Linked DNA regions of Homo sapiens: region 1 is linked to region 2. Evidence: promoter capture Hi-C in 16 types of primary human blood cells and fetal thymus (Javierre and others, 2016). All regions are on one chromosome and are shown on one strand. Each heading gives the region's core, a stretch centred on a gene start or on the middle of the fragment in contact. The rest is flanking DNA. Distances are from core to core; before and after follow the strand shown. Region 1 holds the start of DPH6 (diphthamine biosynthesis 6). Region 2 holds the start of RSL24D1 (ribosomal L24 domain containing 1).

Region 1 (6,788 bases), core at 3,104-5,603, about 20 Mb after region 2:
ATGTATAGCACGACACTTTTGGCTCTTTGCAGCCAGGGGCCAGCAAGCAAGGATAATTGATTAGTATGAGGAGGTGGGGCCACCTTTACACCTTGGGGACAGGGAGAAATACACATGTGAAACTCAGATGATCCACTTGGGTGCCTCTTGGTATGCCCTTACCTAGTTCTAACTGTGAATGGACACAAACTGCAGTCACGGACTGAGAAGAGTATGATGACAAAAGCCCAAGACCACTTAGGAGTGAATGTTTAGGTCATGCCACCAAGTAAGTCAACAAGATCTGCTGAAGTGAGAGCTGAGAGTGATGGGAATATAGAGTGGATAGTGTAGGACAGGGTAAGTACTAGTGTGGTCCCAGACCACCTGTGATGATAGTTTGTCCTATTAACTTCCCTTTCCTAAGTTTTTAGAGAGGTTTACAGAAATCATGAAGCGACACCATGAATGTTATTATGAATTGATTTACAGTCTCCGCCTACTGCACTTTTGGATTCACCACTGAGTTTGCACCGGACTAAGTTTTTCCTGCACTGCTCTCAGACAGTTACTGAGCACAGCAGATCCTGACCAATTTGGAATTCCTCTAATGAACAACTTTGGCTTAGGACTCCCCATTGACCTGGCTGAGTCTCTCAGAATGACATTACAAACAGGTTCTTTCAACCTATTCTTCCTTCCCATTCTGCTTTTTCAGATTTCGACTCCCCTGCATTCCAATCGGAGTCTCCCTGCCTTCTCTTGCTGGTCTCCCTTTGTCCTTCACAGGCATTTTCTCTTATCTCCTGCACATGTAATCCCGTCTTGGCATCTGCTTCTCAGAAACCTGTAATTGACAAACTGGGTGTTGCTTTTAAATTTCGGCAAAAGAAAATGACACCCACAAAGGTGACTACAATGAATTAAGAAAGATTCTCAATGGGAAAAGTTAGAGCATGGCCTAATCTCTAGTTTTTAACAAGTTTTTCAGGGGTCAATAATTAATCTGGTTTTGTTCAGTTAGCTATAAAAAAAAAGAACTTCAAAAATATGTATGACTCTAAGAATAACTTTGATGGCTGGGTCAAGACCAATCTGACATATATTAATTTCGGAAATACCAATATGTCTATTGAACCAAAATGAATTGAACCTACCATTTTTATGGTGGCCTTGATAGGACATTCAAGCACAGAGCCTTGTGTGGTAATGCTGAGAGAAAGGCACTAATGTGAGGAAATATAAAAATTTTTAAGAAAATACACGTTGCAGTGTTACATTAGGCAACCAGAAACATTCATTAATTTAAATAATTCTGGTAGAAAGTTTTAAAAGGAGGGAATAGGTGCTGAGAGAAATTTTGTTCAAGGGGTCAAAAGGACCTGGAGGAGAGATACCACAGGTGCTAGAAAGAATCGAGTGGGGAAAGCAACACCATCAAGCTAAAAACTGGGTGACCTTGGAGAACGGCCTCAACATATTTCCTAACATACAGTTTAATGCCAGGATATACACACTGTAATAAACCTGTTTGTTGAGGATGTCTTAAAATGAAGCCTACAGAGCGCAAAGAGAAACAAAAAAATAATCCTAAAGATGTAGTTTTAGGAAGGTAGCCTTAGAATCTTCTCTCTTTATCCCTCCTGGGAAGTGGCAAGGAAAAGATATCCCTTGGTGGAAAAGATAATCCATTGGCATCTTTGGGAGTGCCTATTTTATCAAAATCATTCATCATGTTCATTACTGCTATTTCACACAATCTCCTGAAAAATGATGTCAAGTAGCCACAGTAACCTGCCTTATTTTGAAATTCCTCATTTTGGTTTTCCATGACCCTGGATAAACTGGCCTCATCCTATTTATTCAACTTATTTTTTCTTCTTTCCCATATACCTTCCAAATTAGTCAAGCTAGTCTACCCCCTGTTGTTCAACACACCACGCTCATTCTTGCCTTGCTTTGTTTGGAAGTTCCGCCCATTCCTGTTCAATTCTACTCATCTTTCAAGTCCCATCCTCATTCCAGCCATTACCCTGTGAGTTTGACTCATGGGACTCTTGCCATACACATTACATAACTTGTTACTTTCAAAATGTGTTATCTTGGATTACTGTTATAGGATTTATTAAAAAAATAATTTTAGGCAGATAGGAAAAGGGGTCCTTGGAAAGTTTTTGTCTCTTTTAAAGCAGCTCCAGAAATGTTTCTTGTCTAGCAGGAAAGCCCCTGCTCTTAGAGCCCGGCTGGCGACCTTTGATATGCAAATGCAGGCCATTAGAAACTGGGTCCACACAAACATGGCGATAGCCACCGCTGTCCTCTTGCCCTTGCCCCTGTATGTGTCTGGCAACATGGCCATCCCCACATATCGCCACACGTGTAGAACATCAAGGCGACCTGCATTTGCATATTAAAAGGCTAGGGTGGGAGAGCCAGGTTTTTCGTGGGCTATGTGAATGACATGCCTGGTCAAACCAATCCCCTGAGCCCTATGCAAATCTGACACCGCCTCTTCCAGTCTCCTCATATAACTGCCTGTTAACCCCAGCACTGGGGGTTTCCTCTCTAGGCTTTGGAGCCCACTTCCATGTGTCTCTACAGGGGAGCTTCTTCCTTTCTTCACCCTTCTTTCTTGCCTATTAAATTCTCCACCCCTTAAAACCACTCCATGTGTGTCTGTGTCATTTTACCCAATTCGGCATGAGACGAGAGCCCTGGTGCTTCTTCCACTCATTGGAGCTGTATCATTTTAAGTGTGTTTCACGTATTTATCTCCTCCAATTAGACTGCAAACTTCTTAAATACTTGACTCATTTGGTAAATATTCATAACTGCAAAATCTTAAAGCTGTATGATTCTAGACGCTAAAACTGATATGTAGACTGTCACTGCTCTAGTCACCCCTACTATTAGAGTTGAGAATGTCAAAATAAAATTGAATGCTTACTATGTACCTGGCATAATTTTAAGTTCCCTACATATATTAACTTACTTAATTCATGCCTTTGGCATCATCCCTCATGACTTTCTTTCTCTTGTATCCCATATCGAATTTGATTCTATTGGCTCTATCTTCAAAATAGAGCTGGAATCCTCTTACTTCTCACCAAATTCACCATGTTGATTCTAGGCTCCGCCATCTCTCTACTGGAACACTGTAACAGCTTCCTAATAGGTGGATTCTCAACACTGCAATCCTTTTAAAATTTTAAGTCACACCCTTCAAAAGTCTGCAATTACCTACAAGACCCTATATAATCCTTCCCCTCCATCACCTTAACCTGCTCTCCACTACTCTCTGCTTTGCTCAATCTGCTCCAGCAACACGGATCTGCCTTAATCTTCCACAAACACACAACGCACCTAGAGCCTTCGATTTTTTTTTCTTGTCTGGAGCACACCCCAATCATACACATAGCGAACTCTCCTTATTTAAATTGGCTCAACTCTCATCTTACCAATAAGGCCTACATAGACACGATTTAATTCTGCAATTTGCCTCTCCACCTCTCTCCTGACTCTCCCCCACCGCACCCCGCCCCTTTCCAATAGCACTTTTCACTCTTCAACAGACTATTTACCTTTAAGATATGTATTGTCTGTTCTCTCCATCCCCATTTAAGCTCTATGCCCGGAATGCCGGGTTTTTGTTTTATTTACGGTTGTATCCACAGAGTCTAAAACAGTGCCTGGTACACGAAAGGCACTCAATACATACTTGGCAAATAAACTTAGAAGCTAGATTTTCTTTCTGCAAGGCCATTGCTCTTTGGTGAAGAGCCTGGCCTGGCCTTGTCAAATACACAAGCTTGACCAAGAGCCAAAGCCACAGAGGGCCTAGAGGTGGGGGGGGCTAGCCCCAGATTTAAAAATTACCACAGCCCCTGGGGATCTGAGTTTCACATCTGGACACACAGGTTTGGAGGACAGAGGAGATGTAAGTTAAAAAGCAGAAGTGTACAGTTGTTTCTGTTCTGTGGGGTGAGGAAGGACAAATTTCTTCTGCGCTTGCACGTCCGCAACTGTGTCAATTTGCAGCAATTGGGACGCTAAATCCCCTCTTACCAAAACAAATCCTGCGCCACTGGGCTTGGGCTCTGCAACGCGGACCTTGCCCTTCCCCCGGCAGCTTCAGTGCCCTCACTTAGGTGGTTAGGCCGTGCCTAAACCTCATTCTTTCCTGGGCCGAGATGTCCCTGCCACAGGGTCAAGGTGCCAAGGTGCCGCACCCTCCGCGCTCAGGTGTCCCGCAGGCAGCCGCGGGGCTCGCAGCGCCGATCCGCGGACAGGCGGCGGAGCGAACACCCGGGCGAGGCCCCGCGGTGCGTCACGCGAGCTGCGGCGCGACCTCCTGGCTCCCGCCCGCGCTCGCCGCACGCACGCGCACTGCGCCCAGCATGAGGGTCGCGGCTCTGATCAGGTAATGCGGTCCTGGAGCCGCCTCCTTCCTCCTAGGCCAGGCTCTCGTCCCTTCCAGCCGCCGCTAGCGCCGAAAGAGTGGGTGTCTCCGTCTGAGTCGCGCGTTGGGGGTTCCGCGGCTCCTCCGAGCCACAGGAAGAGGCGGAGCCTTCGCTGTTGCCGGCCCGCATGTGCCTCGGCCCCTGGCTGGCGCGCCTCCTCCCTGTCTGTCGCTCTCTGGTCTTCTAGCCCTTAAACTTGGATTCCCATTGGATTCAAGTGGGAAATTAAAAAAAGTACCGACGCCTGGGCCCCACCGCCAGAGGGATTGGTTTAATTACTTCTGTGCGACCCGGCGTCTGATTTTTTTTTTTCAAGCTCTAATGAGCCGTGAAGTTTGGAGCCACTACCTTATTCCATCAACTCAGTTAATAACCCTCGCCCTTTCCCCCTCGCTTTCTTCGTCCTCTTCTGTAGTTCCTTTGGTCAGCTGGGTCCGCCGCAGCCTGGCTTCCTCCCTAGTTGTAAGTGTTTCCGCCCATCCCAAGAAGTCCACCCCTCCCTCATCTTCACAGATGTGGATTGCTTATGGCATGTGTGTGTTTCTGCCTTTGGGCACTCAAGTACAGAGATCTCTCTTCGTGGTAGAGACCGAATTGTACTAGTCTTATGCTAGATCCAGTTGCTGTTGCTTCGGACTCTCATCATTGCTTTAGAGTGACCTTACCCTATACTCCGTATTCCAAAAGGAGTTTGATGTCTGTAGTAACCAAATCATAAATTTAAGTGTCTAAATAAGTCCTGTGACTGACAAACCAAAAACAAACCTGCTTAAATATTTCCATACTCAATCTATAAACTGAGGCAGAAGGGAACACACTAGCAACATTAAAAAGTTAGACTACTTAAATACTTGTTTCATGAGATTTTGCCCTGTAGAGTGTCTTAGATACAGTGCAACGATGTGCTTGCTTTTGTAATCCAATTGAAGATTTCATAAACGTTTTCGTTAAGTCCCTTAGGTAATTGATACTGGCTGTAAGTTTTGACCTATTAAGGACTTGATATGAGATTTCAGACCTACTGTAGTGTCTGGAATATTCCGGTTCCCTTTCCTTCAATGTCATTTTTAGGAGACTAGACCATAATGTCACAATAATTATTGTTGTTCAGTAAATGTCCTCTGTAACATAAATGATTAAGCTTTAACCATTGTGTCTTATTTTAAGAATTAAAAGTACCCCAGGAAGTGAATAATTCAAATTTACATCGCTTGCCAAAAGTTTAACGATTAAAGTAAAGCACAACAAACAAAGACTTAGAAGTATTGGAGGGGAGGAGAGAAGATTGGTAGAGTCAGTTACACTAAATAACCTGTAATGTGCATATGTTGCTTTATAATAAAAAAAGTTTGCTAAAAAAGCAATGTTGGAAAATTCTTGCTGAAGCGTAAGAGCTGTAAGGACATATGCTGTAAGTATGAATACGTAAGCATTTACCTGTATGCTTATGATACAGATGCCTATGTATTCTATATATATGCATTATATATAATTATGTATTATAAGTGAATAAGTGAAACTGGGATTCTTACATATCTTTCTAAGAAGATTATTTTCCTTTTTTAAATTTTTTTTTTATTATACTTTAAGTTCTGGGTTACATGTGCAGAACGTGCAGTTTTTTTACATAGGTATACATGTGCCACGGTGGTTTGCTGCACCCATCAACCCATCACCTACATTAGGTATTTCTCCTAATGTTATCCCTCCCCTAACCCCCAAACCCCCACAGGCCCCAGTGTGTGATGTGCCCCTCCCTGTGTCCATATGCTCTCATAGAACATTATTTTTCTAATAAATAAATGAGTCTTTGAATTTTATAGTTGAATGTTATTTTGAGGATTATCCAGGCAGACCATTCATTAATTTGCAATGAAGTATGCAAACCTAAGCACATTGAATAACTTAGCTTAGTATCCCAGAGTTGGAAACTAAAATAGAGCTGTGAGACCTCTCACCTAACATACATGTGTACTTAATGGAGTTCTAAGAGGACAGTAAGGTACTCTGCATTTCCCAAGCTTGTCTGATATTCAAAACCTTTTGTTAGAGTAATTGGTTAGTATTTTGTTGGACACCAGTGTTCCACAGAACACAGTTTGGTAAATACTGCTTAAAACCATATTTGAAATGTTGGCATATTTCAAAATAAATTGTCAGACTCAGTTCTGATTCTGGATGCACACCCTTCAGTCTTTAATATCTGAAACAATTAGTCATATCTTTTTATCCTGGGGAATCAGAGCAGTAAGGTTCGATATGGGAAGTTGTGGAAGACCTACTTATGGGGATACCGAACCTGAAGAGAGGAAGAATGGACTTTTTAAAACTTCACTTTGGCCCTTGTGC
Region 2 (7,409 bases), core at 3,905-6,404:
CTCCTTGACCTGTTGTTCTGCTTTGCGTTTCTTCATATCACTCAATGTAAATATTTCACCACCTGATGTATTTACAATTATTCTTAGCCAAGAGGCTGACAAGTGATTCACTTGACATATTTATATATTTGTCTACATCCACTAAGATACAAGCTCCACAAACAAGGACAGGGATTTAGGTAGTTTTCTTCAAAACTGTTACCGTCACTCAGAAAAAGGCCTGGTACACAATAGGTACTCAAATTTTTGTTAATTGACTGAGTAAAGGACTTAAAGAGGCAGCAGGGTCAAGAGAGTTTTCAAAAGAGGCCACTGTTAATGTTAAAAGACAGAAAAACGCAATTTGAAAATAAAAACAGCGTTAAAAATGTTTAAAAAGGTTCACATATAGTAAGTCCATACTAATTCATTGCAAGAAATCAAGAAATCTAGGCCAGGTGTGGTGGCTCATGCTTGTAATCCCAGCACTTTGGGAGCTGAAGTGGGTAGATCACCTGAGATCAGGAGTTGGAGACCAGCCTGGCCAACATGGTAAAACCCAGTCTCTACTAAAAATGCAAAATTAGCTGGGCGTGGTGGTTCATTCCTGTAATCCCAGCTACTGGGGAGGCTGAGGCAGGAGAATCGCTTGAACCCGGGAGGCAGAGGTTGCAATGAGCCGAGATCACGCCACTGAACTCCAGCCTGGGTGACGAAGCAAGACTTCATCTCAAAAAAAAAAAAAAATTAAGAAATCTGAGAGATAATTTCTGATCTTTTGAAGTTGATGTCAAGATGGCTAACAATCTATTTAAGACATGTTTCACTTGGTATTTTTATAAATTGGAAATCTCTATGGTGGTATTTCCAGCTCTTCTGTTATTGGTAATATAGGTATTTATAAAACTAATAAGCTCTTCCATTATAAGATACTTAGATAATGCTGGATAAAGTATGAACATATTTTTTAAAAATGTACCGATGATTTCTCAAAAAAATATGGGCAATGCCCTAAGACCACCTCCTTCCCCTTAAAAACAGACAACAGATGGAACTTAAAACAACCTGATGCTGATTGTGGTTTGCTTTTGGTTTGGTTTTGCCAGTATCGGTAATCAGGATGCTTTGTTATAATGGCTACAAAGAATTAGTAAAGAAAACCTTGGGCCTGTTGAGAATAGGGTGATGAAACTGCAGCCCTCTGTCCCCAAACACACAGAAATCCAGGACCTGCTCTATGGTTTTTTTTTTTTTCTTATTCTTCTTTTTGAGATGGAGTCTTGCTCTGTCGCCCAGGCTGGAGTGCAGTGGTGCGATCTTGGCTCACTGCAACCTCTGCCTCCCGGGTTCAAGCAATTCTCTGCCTCAGCCTCCCGAGTAGATGGGATTACAGGCACCCACCACCACACTCGGCTAATTTTTGTATTTCTAATAGAGATGGGGTTTCACCATCTTGTCCAGGCTGCTCTTGAACTCCTGACCTTGTGATCCACCCACCTTGGCCTCCCAAAGTGCTGGGATTACAGGCGTGAGCCACCGTGCCTGGCCAACCTAGTCTATGCCTTTAATCTCTTGTGAAAATTTACAACTACAAGTCGGCTTGAACACAGGTTTAAGGTTAAAGTGTATAATACCTAATTTTTCTGGGTATGTTCAATCAAGAAATTAACAAAAATTAACATTTTAAAGAAGGGATTTGTTCTGGATTACTTGGTGGAAGCAAAGCAAAAATGTTTACAGATGGAATTTCTGCACAGGCCAAAAAACACCCTACTATGGATGAGATTACAATGAAAAATTACAATCTATTTCTTCTTCATTCTTACCTCCAGTCATTAGCAAGGGCCAGCAGACCAAACAGCCAGCAGGATTTGGCATTTAAGAACCTCAAATAATATACTTATCAGAAGCAGACCATAAAGTCAAAGTGTTTAAGATAATCACAAACATGAAAGGAACTAAAAAATCCAGAAAAGAAGACAATATTAAAGATAACAGACTGGTTTGAATTAAAAAAAAAACAAAAAAACAAAAACTTCCAACAGTGAAAAATACAGCCATTGATATTCAAAACTTAATGGTTAGAGGTTAAATGACAGGTTTGACAGAGTTGAAGAGGAAATTCTAGAAGGCAGGTCAGAGGAAATTACCCATAATTCAGCAGACAGAGATAAGGAGAAAGTCCTGGAGGGGTTAAAAGACACAGAGGGAAGAAAAAAAGCTCCAACTTATATCTAGTAGGAATTCTATGAGGAGAAATTAGAGAAACTGAAGGAAGAGGCACTATATGAAAAGATAATAGCTGAGAATTTTCCAGTAATGATAAAAGACACATACCCTTAGATTTAGGAATCATAAATCCTAAGAAGGATAAATGGAATCATATTTCCAAGATTTCAGTTCAATCTTGTATTCCATTAAAATAGATGGAAAGAAAAAAACAATTTCTAAGGCTGGCTATACACACACTCATTCTAAAGTGAAGCACTGAATATGTTCATGGACTGAAGGGAACAAAGTCTCAGATGAAGCCTTAAGGTATGAAATTAAGAACACAGATAAATGATGTGGCCTCTGACATCAAAGGTAAGAGGGTAAACCTGGGTGTTCATGTATATGGGAAGGGTATAAAATTTCTTGGTGAAGTAGTAGGAACAAACAGAGTTGGGAAGGAACTGTGTAAAGTTTGCAAAGATTGGTGAGGCTCTTCCATAATTGTTGAGGAGGATAGGAGAGGAAGAGTAAAGAAAAGTAAAATAATTTTCAGTCTCTTGGTTGACAATAAAGTATTGGGCAGATGTTTATTACTAAAATTTCTGGTATGTGCCTTTGTTATTTAACATTACTCTGGAATTACTGGTCGAATGACTAGACAAGAAAAAGTATCCAATAAAAGGAAAAATGTGTGTATTTGAAGATTATAACTATACAAACTGATTCTAGAGTTAAAATGAAAAGATAAATGTTGAAGAATAGCCAGATAAAAAATGAATAAGAAGGACAAGGAAGGAAGGGTGATATGGTTTGGCTGTGTCCCCACCCAAATCTCATCTTGAATTATAGCTCCCATAATTCCTATGTGTTGTGGGAGGGACTTGGTGGGAGATAATTGAATCATGGGGCCAGTTTCCCCTACACTGTTCTCATGATAGTGCATAAGTCTCACGAGATCTGATTATTTTAAAGGGGTTTCGCCTTTCATTTGGTTTTCATTCTCTTTGCCTGCTGCCATCCATGTAAGACCTGACTTGCTCCTCCTCGGCTTCTGCTGTGATTGTGAGGTGTCCCCAGCCATAAAGAGTCCATTAAACCTCTTTCCTGTATAAATTGCCTAGTCTAGGGTATGTCTTTATCAGCAGCATGAAAACTAATAGAAAGGGAGAGGAGGTAAACCCAGTTATTCAAAAAATGACAATAATTTAAATATTTGGGCAGTGGCACATTAACAAATAAAACGATGGAACTGAGTCCAGAAATGGAGCCATAGATGTGACATTATGAGTGAGTGGGGGAAAGGATGCTTTATCAACATACAGCACTGAGGGAAAGACACTGGAGTCTTATGTCATTTATACTTAAATTCCAGACGAGTTGAAAATTCAAATGCAAAAAAATGAAACTACAAAACATAAGAGAAAACATTTTGAAAAACAATTTTGGAGTGAGAAGTGCAGTTTAAAGGAAAGTACCAAATCCAAAATCATAAAAAAATTGGATAAATCTGAATATATAAACAACATATTTCTGCATGGAAAAATACCATGAGCAAAGCTTAAAACATTGATAGGGAAATAATTTCTAAATGCATGTCAGCAAAGGACTAACCTTAACGTGTAAAGTGCTGTTGAAAATCAACGAAAGAATAGAAAACTGCGTAGGACCTGAACAGGCAATTCACAGAAAAAAGCTGAAAAACATTGTGAAAGATTCTTAACATCATTTGTAATTAAATTCAAGTTGAAATAATAATAAGATAAATTTTCATCTCAGGTTGGCAAAGATCACTTTTCACAGCGGGGTAGTGAAACAGACATCTTATTTGTTGATGCTGAGTGTTAATTGGTAAAAACTTTTGGAAGGCAATTTAGTATTATCTGCCAAATTTTAAAACTATTTATCTATATCCAGCTCCTCTGATCCAGCAGTTCTACATAAACCCTCTCCTGAAAAAGCGTACCAACAGATACTTATTATATCAAAAGATAAGAATGCCCATCGATTAGTGACCAATTAAAATACTTTCATACAATGGCATATATATATGAAAAAGAATGTTAAATACCCTTTTACAGTAAAATATGTATCAAATGCCTATTATGTGCCAGGGACTGTTCTAGATACTGGGATGTAGTTGTAAACCAAACGAACTGAAATCCCTGCCCCTCATGGAGCTCACATTCCAATGAAGGGATACAAGGTAACAGCAAGATGCAGAAAAGAGTAAATAGCATATTAACTAGTATTATAAAGAAGAGGACGTAGAGACAGGCAAACACACAAATATACATGTTTGCCTATGCACAGAAAAGCTCTGGCAGGTAATAAATGGAACTGTTTTGCCCCTGGGGAGGAAGACCGCAGGTCTAGGGAGGGAGTCGTAGTTTCCGGCGAAAATATTTGTTTACTACATATGCATATTAATTAAAATGGGGGGGAGGCGGATAACACGATTTTATATTTAAAAAAATTGCTGGTAAAGTCCTTGGAGCATCAGCAACTCAACCGTTTTCATTGCAATGTTCGAAGCAACGCTGGATTGCAGGGTCTTCGCCGCTTACACCCTGCAAATCACTGTGGGACGAGAATCGAGGGCTGGTCTAGGGCAGGCAGTAGACAAATGAGTTAAGAGAGTGCTCTCGAGAGCACTCCGAGGCAAAGCACAAACCAAAGATACATAATACTTGCATAAATGCCGACACACAGAGAGAAAAAACTAGGCGCTGTGAGAGCAAGTTCACAAGGTGGCGCAGAACCACATTTCCCCAAAGTAACAGCGAACAGGTCTAGTCTGCAGCTCTGCGCCTGCGTCAAACGGCAGCGCATTTGACCACACGGCCGCCGGAGGCACAGTCGTGTTCGCATCTGGTCTAACAGACCCGCGAGAACGAAGGACGCTTGCCTTTTTCCGGTCGGGGAAGGGGGAAGAAGGTAACTTCCGGTGACGGGGTTGCATCACTTCCTCTCAAGCTTGGCGTTTGTTTGGTGGGGTTACACGCGGGTTCAACATGCGTATCGAAAAGTGTTATTTCTGTTCGGGGCCCATCTATCCTGGACACGGCATGATGTTCGTCCGCAACGATTGCAAGGTAAGGCGGTCGACACCAGTTCTTGCTTCAGCCTAGCTCCCGCGGTTCCTGGGCGCGGCGGCTCGGTGCTGGGTGCTTCTGCGTCTGCCGTGTTTGGCCCGGGTTCCTCCCGTTGTTCCCCTGGGAGGGTGGCTTAACTGGGCCTCCGTTCTCAACGTTCCGCTTCGGGGGTTTCTCCTTGCCCGTCTTCCGAGCGGCGCTGGCCACCACGCCACCCTTGGGTGGCGTTGGCAGCGAGGAACTTCAGGAGCGATCCCAGCTAGCGCCTACCAGGAATCTTGGATGTCTGTGAGGGCTGTTTGGCCACTCATGTACTTGGGCCAAATTCTTGAATCCAGTAAACTTTGTTGAGTGTATACCCTGTCAGGCATTACACTAAGGTCCATACTAAAGTGTAGAGGTTGATGGAAGTGTTCCGTATTGCTTAATGGTAGAGTTATGTATTAAGTTACTGCAGGTGAGTTGGGGAGGGTCCTGTACGGAAAGACTCAGCATAGAGGTGATATTTATCTTGGATCCTGAATTTTGCGGAAGAAAGCGGAGGGGGCCTTCTAAGTGGAAGGAAAGTGAACATTTTGAGAAAAGGCAGAGAACGGAGCAAATACATTTGTTTGAGGAAGTGACTGGATTGTAAATGATGATAGAGCCTTGGGCGTAGGGCTACAAGTATAATAAGTCTGTAAACGTAAATAATAAATATGAGTCCTAGTTGTGAAAGACGTTTTGAATGGTACATGAATTTGTCCTGTCATTACAGAATGAATCCCGTTCCTCTCTTTCTCAGAGAAACACATTGTTTCTCAGAATTTGATCTCTTACGTTTGCTTCTGAATTACTGGGCGTTTACAGATTCCTGGTTTTCACCAGATCTATTGAGTTGGAATCTTTGGGGGAGGGGAAGAGGGTCTAAGAATCTGTATATTAAGGTGAATTTGACGTGCTAAATAATTACAAGTCTGACTTCTTCACCTTATATCTCTGTAACAGATCAAAGATATTGACCTCATTAATTAGATCCAAGGGATTCAGCTGAAAGTGACGGACCAAAGCCATGTTTGATAACGTAAAAGAACCTAGAAGATTTTGAATACTTGCTCTCAGGAACATGATAAGAAGTTTATAAAAATGAACCAAAAGATTGCCAGGTTGGGGTCTAATTCAGAGTAGGCAGTATGGTTTTATACATGATGTCGTTACGATTTTGTGATTTTCGTCCAGGATGCTTGTCGGCTGGATATTGGAATTAGAACAACAGATCGTGAGAACTGTCAAGACCTGGGTATTGATTTGGTAGACACAGTGGAAGTTAAGTTGATGAAGAATAAGGACAGTGTTGAGTTGGTTGGGAGTCACCAGTGGATCCAGAAGAGAGTTGTTGGAGGAAATAAAAGATAGAGGGCCTGAAGCACTAACAAAGAACAAGTATCTCATCTTTTTTTATGCTTGATTTCCAAACCTAAATCTCCTGAGCTCCAAATCTGAATTTTCCATTGGATGTACCTAACAGTAGGTACAGTGGGCCTACTGAAAGAGAATTCCTTAGTACCTCAGATCTTTTTGCTCTGTGAATTAATACCACTCTTAAGTGCCCGGATAGTTTTGCTAGAAACATGAGAGTCGTCTGAATCTTTTCACCTTTTGTATCTAGTTATCAAGTCTTACCTATCCTGCCTCTGCAAAGATAGTGGTGTCTTTGCCTTCTTTCTACTTTCCTGTCCTAGTTCAGATTAGGCTCTTACCACTTTTATAGCCTCTTATCTAGCCTTTTTTTTTTTTTTTTTTTTTGAGACAGGGTCTCACTGTCTATTGCCCAGGCTGGAGTGCAGATGTGTGATCATGGCTCTCTGCAGCCTCAGTCTCCTGTACTTAAGCAGTCCTCCCTCCTCAGCATGCTGAGTAGCTGGGACTACAGGTGTGCACCACCATGCCCAATATCAAAAAAATTTTTTGTAGAGACGGGGAGATTAACATTGTGTGTGTGTGTGTGTGTGTGTGTGTGTGTGTGTAGAGACAGAGGCTTGCTATGTTTCCCAGGCTTTAACTAGTCTTTCTGCCTTTATTCTCTTAGTTTCTGAGACTGTTATTAATAGAAACTTCACCTTTTACTCTTCTTAGGCATAAATG

The links. Contacts are between HindIII fragments. The CHiCAGO score rates a contact against its expected background, and 5 or more counts as called.
Region 1: the fragment with the promoter of DPH6 here is called in contact with the fragment with the promoter of RSL24D1 in region 2 in 4 of 17 cell types (total CD4 T cells, total B cells, non-activated CD4 T cells and 1 more); the score reaches 9.3 in total CD4 T cells.

What each region holds. Positions count from the first base shown.
Region 1 is chr15:35,543,730-35,550,517 of GRCh38, reverse strand. DPH6 (diphthamine biosynthesis 6) reads left to right here and starts at 4,353. Exons shown (of 9, transcript NM_080650.4): 1 at 4,353-4,399. The coding sequence starts at 4,377. DPH6-DT (DPH6 divergent transcript) reads right to left here and starts at 4,323. Exons shown (of 3, transcript NR_038251.1): 1 at 4,045-4,323. RefSeq lists enhancers at 1,611-2,367, 2,136-2,430, 4,418-5,352 and silencers at 3,881-3,930, 4,231-4,370. The HindIII fragment of the contact is 1,793 bases long and covers 3,790-5,582 here.
Region 2 is chr15:55,194,686-55,202,094 of GRCh38, reverse strand. It overlaps RSL24D1 (ribosomal L24 domain containing 1), which reads left to right and starts at 5,154. Exons shown (of 6, transcript NM_016304.3): 1 at 5,154-5,285. The coding sequence starts at 5,205. RefSeq lists enhancers at 5,190-5,349, 5,143-6,034. The HindIII fragment of the contact is 1,416 bases long and covers 3,753-5,168 here.